Linked DNA regions of Homo sapiens: regions 2 and 3 are each linked to region 1. The links are contacts of gene promoters, found by promoter capture Hi-C in blood cells and fetal thymus (Javierre and others, 2016). All regions are on one chromosome and are shown on one strand. Each heading gives the region's core, a stretch centred on a gene start or on the middle of the fragment in contact. The rest is flanking DNA. Distances are from core to core; before and after follow the strand shown. Region 1 holds the start of LINC03047 (long intergenic non-protein coding RNA 3047). Region 2 overlaps UBR5 (ubiquitin protein ligase E3 component n-recognin 5). Region 3 overlaps UBR5 (ubiquitin protein ligase E3 component n-recognin 5).

Region 1 (3,022 bases), core at 194-2,693:
CCCCCTCAGCCTCCCAAAGTGCTGGGATTACAGGTGTGAGAGCCACCTCGCCCAGCCCCATCTCCTACATTTTGAAATATATTCTTCTGCTAGTTTAGATATAAGGATAAACATGTAATTCAAAACCAAATTGCCTTTAGCTGCTCCTGCATGTTTATGGGAGGGATGGTGAAACCGCCTTTGTAAAATCATGACTGAGACAGTGAAAGAGATCTAACTTAACTGACTCCATCTTGCCTCTAACCCCCAAGCTGTCCTTGTTCATTCCTGGGCATAGGCTGAACTAACTTTGGGAGAGACTTAGTTTTTCTAATTTAAACAAAGACGGTAACAGCCCTTTCCCAAAGCAGACCGCCTTCTTGCCTGGGGAGTAGATTGCCTTTGTAGGACTAACATTACCCACAAGATTAAAAATTATGGTTTAGGAGTCATGCAGCTGGAAGTCTACAAGATTCTGACCCTCCTTAAACTGGTCCTAAGATCAGTGCTGGAGATATTTTGCAGACCCTGCACTTGATAGATCAGCTGGCACCACCCAGATCAATAAACTGGTTCATCGGATCTTGTGCCCCTGGACCCCCCGGAACTGATTCAGCACAAGACAACAGTTTCGACTTCCTATGATTTCATCCCTGACCAATCAGCACTCCTGGCTCACTGGCTTCCCCCCACTCACCAAGTTATCCTTAAAAACTCGACTCCCCGAATGCTTGGCGAGACTGATTTGAGTAATAAAAAAAACTCCGGTCTCCTGCACAGCCGGCTCTGCGTAAATTACTCTTTCTCTATTGCAATTCCCCTGTCTTGATGAATCGGCTCAGTCTAGGCAGCAGGCAAGGTGAACCCCTTGGGCAGTTACGGTGGCTGAGGACATAATTCGTATTTGTGGAGAAAAACATAACATCGAATATTATTTACTATGTGCCAAACACTAAGCACTTCATACATATTAACTCTAAGAAACTTTTGTCTACTGCCTGCCAAGTTCAAAGATATTCTTCTATATTTAACTCATTTAATTCTCAGCAACCCTACTAAATATTAGTCCCACCCCATTCTGTAGATAAATAAACTAAGGCAGGGGAAGAACTGTGCCCCAAACCGCACAGCTGGTAAGTGGCGGAACCAGGACTTCCTCCAGAATCTGCTCCAGAAGCCTGCGCTGTGCTGTGCACTCCGTGCGCTGTGTGCTCCGTGCGCTGTGTGGTCCGTGCTCGCTGTGTGCTGTGCACGCGGTGCGCTCTGTGCTGTGTTGCATGCTCTGTGCTGTGTGCGCTGTGCTGTGTGCGCTGTGCTGTGTGCTCTGTGCTGTGCTCCGTGCGCTGTGTGCTGCGCGTGTGTGCTCTGTGCTGTGCTCCGTGCGCTGTGTGCTTTGTTGTGCGCTGTGTTCTACGTGCTCTGTGCTGTGCGCTGTGCTGTGTGCTGAGCTGTGCTGGCATCGTTCTCACTCCTCCTGGTGGCTGTGGGAGGATGGACTGGTAAGGCTTTCTCTTTGTTATCTTCTGTCCCAGACCGGATGTCTGTCACAGTCATCAAGGGGTCTTGTCTGTAATGCCAGGAGGTGTAGCACGAGATGGGAAGGTGGGGGACACACTGAAGCGAGGAAATCCTAGAGGGAGGGCCAGCCTGGAGGGGCGCAAATACCGTCGCCCCCAGGCCCCGCCCCACCCCGGCAGCCAGAGCCCTGCAAGCAGTGGGGGCTTTCTACATAAGAGGCATCCACGCTGTGCTGCTCTGAACATTGAGAGAATGTTAGGCTGGGCGTGGTACAGGCTATGCCTGTAATCCCAGCACTTTGGGAGGCCGAGGTGGGAGGATTGCTTGAGCCCAGGAGTTCAAGACGAGCCTGGGCAACAGAGCCAGATCCGATCTCTAAAAAGAAAAAAAAAAGAAGAAAGAAAACATCTGCCACATGCTCATTTTCCTTGCGAAGGTGGTTTTGGAGGAATCCAGAGAAATGGCTGAATCCCACCTCTGAGCTGGAGCAGAGAAGGGAAAAAAGAAGTCTGGTTGGTCTGAGAATGAACCCCACAGTCCAGAGGCAGCAGTGAGCTCCTGGGAATCTGGATAAACTTGAGGAGGACACTGTTCATTGTACTTTACGCCAACGTGGACTGGAGGATACAACCCGTTTTATTTCAGTCCCAGAGTGACCTCGGATGACACGTGGGAGAGCGCTGTACATTCATGCATATATATACATGTATGTGATTTGTAACATGTATATTATGTGGTTTATATAACAGATGCATGACATAAACATGTACCGGTAGAGACGTAGAGAATTCTTTATAAAAAGTGACATAATATAATGAATCAATAAATCTATATATATAGTATACATTGTATATTATGTAAATGTAACATGGCATATTATAAAACATCTATAAAACAAACATAACACATATACTGTTTTATATATGATATGTAAGCACATATTTATATACTCTTTATTAAAATGTAACATTATATGATTTAATGTTTTTCCCTTTAAATTTTTTTAACAAAATGGGACATTATTATATACACAATTTTGCGTGTTTTTAATTTAGGAATATACTGTGTATGCTTTATCTTTTCAGTAATATTCTTTAAGAAGATGATTGTTAATATATTTTTATATTCTTCTGTTTGTTTTTGAGGCGGGGGTCTTACCATGTTGTTCAGACTAGCCTTGAACTCCTGGGTTCAAGTGATCCTCCTTCCTCAGCCTCCCAAGTAGTTAGGATTACAGGCACACACCACTGCACCCATCTATATTTTTATATTCTATATGCAGGTACCATAATTTGCTTAATCAGTCTCTTATTTTGGTTATTTGTTTCTGTTTTGAGTTTTTGCTATTATAGGTAATGCTGCTAATGAACTTTCTTATAAATAGAACTTAGATTCTGATTTCGTACATCTTGCCAGCACCAGTCAGGGTCGACAGAAAACAGGTGGCACACTAAACCTGGGCAATTGAGGGACATCTAATAAAAAAGGTACAAAGGTGTAAGCTGGGTTTACGGAAACCAGCCAG
Region 2 (3,022 bases), core at 200-2,699, 220 kb before region 1:
GCAAATCAGTAGAGACAATTTCAGGTGGCCTACCAAAAGAAACAGAACTTAAGGGTACACTTTAAGCAGAACATACAATCGACAGGAATAGAGAAGGGAGGGTAAACTTTCTGTTAAGGACAAGTAAATATTTTTAGCTTTCTCAACTAACTCAGCTCTGCAACTGAAACAGGAAAGCAGCCACATACAATGCATAAATGAATAGGAGTGGCTGGATTCGGCCTTTGGGCCATAGTCTGCCAATCCTTGGTTTTTACTTCATGTTATCTATCTAATTAGAACCCTTTTAATAATGATAGCCAATTAAGCAAAGGATATAAATTTTATTCCAGGCTTACTCCCACCTTCTTAGGCTTTTGTGTGTGTGTGAGACAGTGTCTCACTCTGTCTTCCAGGCTGTAGTGCGGTGATGTGAACACAGCTCACTATGGCATCAACCTCCTGGGCTCAAGTAATCCTCCCGCCTCAGCCTCCCATGTAGCTAGCATGCACCACCACAGCAGGCTGATTTTTTGTAGAGGCAGTCTTGCCATGTTGCCCAGGCTGGTCTCAAACTCCTGGGCTCAAGTGATGCCCCCACCTCAGCCTCCCAAAGTGCTGGGCATGAGCAACCCACACCCAGCCCTCTTATGCTATTAAAGGTTATATGAAAACCGATACCTTCAATTCTGCAGGGATCATGACAGGTGTAATTTAATTAACAAAGACACAGTGGTACTGATAAGTATTTATAGAACATATCATTAGCTTTCTGACAAATAGCATGAATATACCAAGAAGTTCATTCTTTCACATTGGAAAACTGTAGTTGTGGAATATTTAATGAATCGAATATAAAGCTTTAGTTTTATAAAACAAAGTTGTTCATTTTAACTATAACTAGAAAAAAGCAGGTGGGAAAAGAGCATGTGGGAGTATAAAGGAAAAAAAAAAACTGCATTTGAACAACTTGCCACCTTCTGGAAAACTGTCAAAATAAGCTCTCCCCTATCCCCAACTTGAGAGCGGGTGGAGAACAGATGTCCACACAAGAAAACACACCTAAACAACTATTTTCACTATCCACTACACGTGAGACAGGCCACTTTGATTGTGGAACTAACTATGGCTCTGAAGTCACCTCATCAACAGCAAGCTCCAGTTCATGAGGAGCTTAATACTAAACTTTCCAAAACATAGGGAAATTTATACAAAATATGTGTTGAGAGAAAATGTCAAAGTCTCCCTGAAGAACAAAGAACAGAGTACTTTCAAAGGGCAACTAAAATCAAGATATTCTGTTGTACGGTGCTGTCATATACACTGGTTTCAAGTAACAGCAAATTATTTAGTTAGAAGCAGCTACTACTCTACAGGAAACTCTTATCTCCAACCTGCCAGACTATAGTAGATGGGCTCTCACACTGAGAGTATCAATACTACTTAGTTGTGTTACAAGCAGAAAAGTTTACTCTGCATCATTGTATGTTACATCTGTCAGTTATTCTTATAGCAAAAGGCAGAGTGAGTTCAATAAAAAATTTCTTGTGGGTCTACTGTGTGGTAGGCCCTAGTCACTGAGGTAGGTATAAAGACTAATCATGACACACTTCATCCCTACCTGCGGGATGATGACTCTACCTGTCAGATCCTGACAAAGTGAAGAGGTCACAGAATCAAATGCCTACACTTGAAGTAATATAAATGAATGAAGGAGGCTGTGTGTAAAAGAGATAACAGAAGCTGTATACTAAATGGCATCACTAGCACTTGGAGCAACAAACTCTAAGTAGTGAGAACTGCAATGAATTGTAAAGACCAGTCTAATGTTTTTGGGATGTAGATTACGAGGCCCAATTTCACCAGATCTTCTAAAATTAAAATCTGGATTTTAAATGTAAATCCTGTGATTTTTCAATATTGGTAACCCATCAAGAATTCTAAAATGATATGAAGGCTATTTCTAGACATCAAGTTCAGACCACAGCTACCTCTGTATCATCACCTCCTTTAGTTTGAAACCACTAGTGCAGTAGGTTACAAGCAAAGCTAAGCTAAGAATGAGTCTGGGTGTCTAAATAAAAGCTTACAGATAGTGCTCATAAGCACCTGGATTCAGTCTATTTTAGATGCAGTTCTAAAAAGTACTTCTCACCTCCAATCTAATGGAGGGTGAATATGCTCCCATATTAAACTCCATTTCCATCCTTTATAGAAAAACTGCTCAAAAAAGTTGCTGATATTTATCTTCAGTTCCTCACCTCTCATTTTCTCCTAAGTTCACTCTAATGCTTTCATCCCCACTATCAATAATGACCTAGATGGAGCTAAATCCAACAGTCAATATTCAGTATTCACTTCACTGACCTACCACATCACTTGACACAGTTGGTCCCAACATCCTGCTTGACATGTGCTCTTCATTTGACTTCCAGGACACAACTCATTCTAGCTTTCCTCCAACCCTGTGGATGTTCCTTCTCGATCTCTTATGCTCGTTCCTCTTTATCACCCTAACATTTAAATGTTGAGACTATTCTCAGGACTTAGTCCTTGGACCTTTTCTCCTCACCACCTCCATGATCTTGTTCAATATAATTCCTCTAAATAAACAACTCCCAAGTAAATTTCTCCAGCTTGAGCCTTTCTCTCTTAGTCAGACTTACACATCTAACTTTCTACTTGCCATCTCCTCTTGGTCCAGGAATCTGTCAGATAATCTTCTAATAGACAACTTAAATTTCACCTGTCTAAAACCAAATTCCTGAACCTTCACCTTCACTTCTTCTATCAGAAGAGACATCTATTAAAATGTCTTCACATTCACTTCCTCTATCAGAAGAGACATCTTAAACTTCACGTCTAAAACCAAACCCTTGAATCTTCTTCACTTCTATAGTCTTCAACTCGGTAAATGACAACTTCATTCTTCCAAAACCATTAACCCTCTTGCTTCGTCTATTTGATACCCTACATTTAGCCATTAGCAAATCTATTAGTTCTACCTTAAAAAGATACCTAGTACAGTCATGTGCTGCATAAA
Region 3 (3,022 bases), core at 299-2,798, 130 kb before region 1:
ACTAGTAATCCCAGCACTTTGGGAGGCCAAGATGGGCGGATCACGAGGTCAAGAGTTCGAGACCAGCGTGGCCAACATGGTGAAACCCCGTCTCTACTAAAAATACAAAAAATTAGCCACGCATGGTAGCACACGCCAGTAGTCCCAGCTACTCAGGAGGCTGAGGCAGGAGAATCGCTTGAACCTGGGAGGTGGAGGTTGCAATGAGCTGAGATCACGCCACTGCACCCCAGTCAGGGGGACAGAGCAAAGTTTCTTTTAAGAAGTTTCTAGAGCCAGGCATGGTGGCTCATGCCTGTAATCCCAGCACTTTGAGAGGCTGAGGAAGGCGGATCACTTGAGGCCAGGAGTTCGAGACCAGCCTGGCCAGCATGGTGAAACTCCATCTCTACTAAAAACACAAAAATTAGCCGAGCATGGTGGCACACGCCTGGAGTCCCAGCTGCTCTGGAGGCTGAGGCACAAGAATTGCTTGAACCAGGGAGACGGTGGTTGCAGTGAGCCAAGATCCTGCCACTGCACTCCAGCCTGGGCAACAGAGCAAGACTCTGTCTTAAAAAATAACAATAAAAAGTTTCTAGAGGAAAAAATATTTTAGGTGAAACTAAATTACTATTCTTTATTCAATGATTTTCACGTTCTTATTTTAGGTGAATAGTTAAATAAGCTAAAACACTTTCCTAGAAATTTATTCTTTTTCTTTTTCTTGAGACGGACTCTCGCCCTCGCCCAGGCTGGAGTGCAGTGGCACAGTCGGCTCACTGCAACCTCTGCCTCCCGGGTTCAAGCCATTCTCCTGCCTCAGCTTCCTGAGTAGCTGGGATTACATTCGCACACCACCACGCCCAGCTAATTTTTGTATTTTTAGTAGAGACAGGGTTTCACCATTTTGGTCAGGCTGGTCTCTTAACTCCTGACCTCATCATCTGTCCGCCTTGGCCTCCCAAAGTGCTGGGGTTACAGGCGCGAGCCACCGCATCCGGCCAGAATTTATTCTTTTTCTATTATTAAAATAATATATACTCATATACAGAAGTATATAAAATACAAAATCATATCAAGAAATATCAAAAGTAATCAACCATAACCCAGAGGCAAGTATACCGTCATTTTGTTTTAGCACTTATGAAACTTTAGTCTTTACCACAGTTAATATCATAGACTTTTTCACCTCTTAGATAGAAAAACACATTGTCTTTTATTCAGCTCCGTGATTCTACTGGTTTCTCCAAAAGATCTGCAGTTTTTTCCCAATAACAGTGAGGCATTTGAACTGAATCATCCATTCAAGCTTGATCATCCTCATTAACAATGGCAAACACCAACAACTTGGCTGGAGAGAGGTGAAGTACATTCTTTGTAGCCACAAAATCAAGCAACTTGCCTACATGGAAAATGGAATTCACACTCCTTAGTGCATTGGTTCCATTACTCTAAGCCTAACCAACTACATTAACCAGTTATGGCCAATTTATGGCCTAGCACATCTTATTTACTTGATCATGATATGACCAAAGTCATTATTGAAGATAATTAACAAGGTATCCTTTTCTACAAGAACATTATTCAACTGATTTGAAACTCTATGTATTCATCAGTCTAAGCATTCTGGGCTTCTTTTAGTTCCTCAAATACACAGCAGTCTCTCACGGTCTCCACATGTGCTGTTCCTTCTGCCTAGGGAGCTCTTCCAGTTCTTAACACCTTGTCCTACGTCCTACATCCTACAGCTCTCCCACCAGCCTCTCTCAGCCTACCTCCTTTTCATTCACAATCCCTATTCTCATTTTCAACACTTCTTCAGGTAAGCTTTTCCCCTGCCCAAGACTGAACTGGTGCTTCTAGTGAAGAATCCTGAACTTTCCCTTTTCACTGTACTTGTCACACTGTCCTGTAACTGTCTCTTTTTCATGAACCAAACACCACCACCAGACACCCAAGACTAGAACTGACAGGCAGCAGACGCCCCCAAATCTTGCTGAATAAACACTCTTTTAATGATTTCACATATATCTATTTATATATATACACACACACACACGTACCTGTTTACATATACACAAACACAGTGTATTCATATTTATAATTACATATATACACAAACATACATACACACAAACAGTGTGTGTTCACATTAATATATAATTACATACACACACACATAGAAAAACAAGTAACTTCCTCTACCCTTTTCAAAGGAAAAGCAATAAGGCTAAGTTAATGTAGGGTGGAGTCTTTGCCACTTAACTAATCTAAGCACTCCGGCCCTCAGTTTCCTCAGCTATAAAATAAAATCCTAAAATCGTCCTTGGTGTAAAGTTTTGATGAAACATCTCAAAACATTCTATTCAGCAGTGTCAAGTCACAAGGTAATATCTATTACAGTCTAATACACAGAACAATGGGTTTCCTGGAAAACAGAAGTTAAAAAGTTTCTCATTGAGCATGTGGCAGTACTAGGACCTAATAAACAGCATTTCCAAAAAACAAGAGCAACACTCTTAATCCATTAGAAATCAAAGGTAAACAAACATTTTCAAACTCAGAAGGTGATATGCCATCATCAATGTGCTTTTGCTTTATCATATACTTGATAAAGCTGCACTCCTGCCTGAGTGACAGAGTGAGACTCCATGTCAAAAATAAAATCAAATAAAGGGGGAAGGGGTGGGGGAGCAATACAGAAGACCTGGGCATGTTTTTTAAGAGCTCCTCTTCAGTTAAACTAACCAGACGGCAAGAGCTTAGAAAGCTCTATTTTCTGCCCACTACTCCTAAATACCTATTAGAGTAAGTACAAAAAAAGCAGAAGAGCAGGTCTGAGGCAGGAAATAAGAATCAAACCTTAAAATGGCAGAACTGGCCAACATATATCAAATGTAACTCATAAAACAGTATCTATAGCTCTACAGTCACACAGATTCAAGGCTGAAATGAACTTTCAGACATTAAATACACCTCCTCATCTTACAAATGAGTAAAATGAAACTCACTGCATGAAAATGACTATGTGACTGTTTAG

What was found. Contacts are between HindIII fragments. The CHiCAGO score rates a contact against its expected background, and 5 or more counts as called.
Region 2: a fragment that was not itself captured here is called in contact with the fragment with the promoter of LINC03047 in region 1 in 1 of 17 cell types (activated CD4 T cells); the score reaches 5.4 in activated CD4 T cells.
Region 3: a fragment that was not itself captured here is called in contact with the fragment with the promoter of LINC03047 in region 1 in 3 of 17 cell types (M1 macrophages, M2 macrophages and M0 macrophages); the score reaches 5.3 in M1 macrophages.

Annotation. Positions count from the first base shown.
Region 1 is chr8:102,527,378-102,530,399 of GRCh38, forward strand. LINC03047 (long intergenic non-protein coding RNA 3047) reads left to right here and starts at 1,444. Exons shown (of 2, transcript XR_001745731.2): 1 at 1,444-1,478; 2 at 1,934-2,474. RefSeq lists enhancers at 1,221-1,440, 1,621-1,670, 1,741-1,790. The HindIII fragment of the contact is 12,429 bases long and covers 1-3,022 here.
Region 2 is chr8:102,305,401-102,308,422 of GRCh38, forward strand. All of the region lies in intron 20 of UBR5 (ubiquitin protein ligase E3 component n-recognin 5), which reads right to left. Among named protein-coding and RNA genes, the nearest start is that of UBR5-DT, 67 kb to the left of the region's middle. The HindIII fragment of the contact is 1,225 bases long and covers 838-2,062 here.
Region 3 is chr8:102,393,375-102,396,396 of GRCh38, forward strand. The region is part of intron 1 of UBR5 (ubiquitin protein ligase E3 component n-recognin 5); the gene reads right to left. Among named protein-coding and RNA genes, the nearest start is that of UBR5, 18 kb to the right of the region's middle. RefSeq lists an enhancer at 1,673-1,752. The HindIII fragment of the contact is 518 bases long and covers 1,290-1,807 here.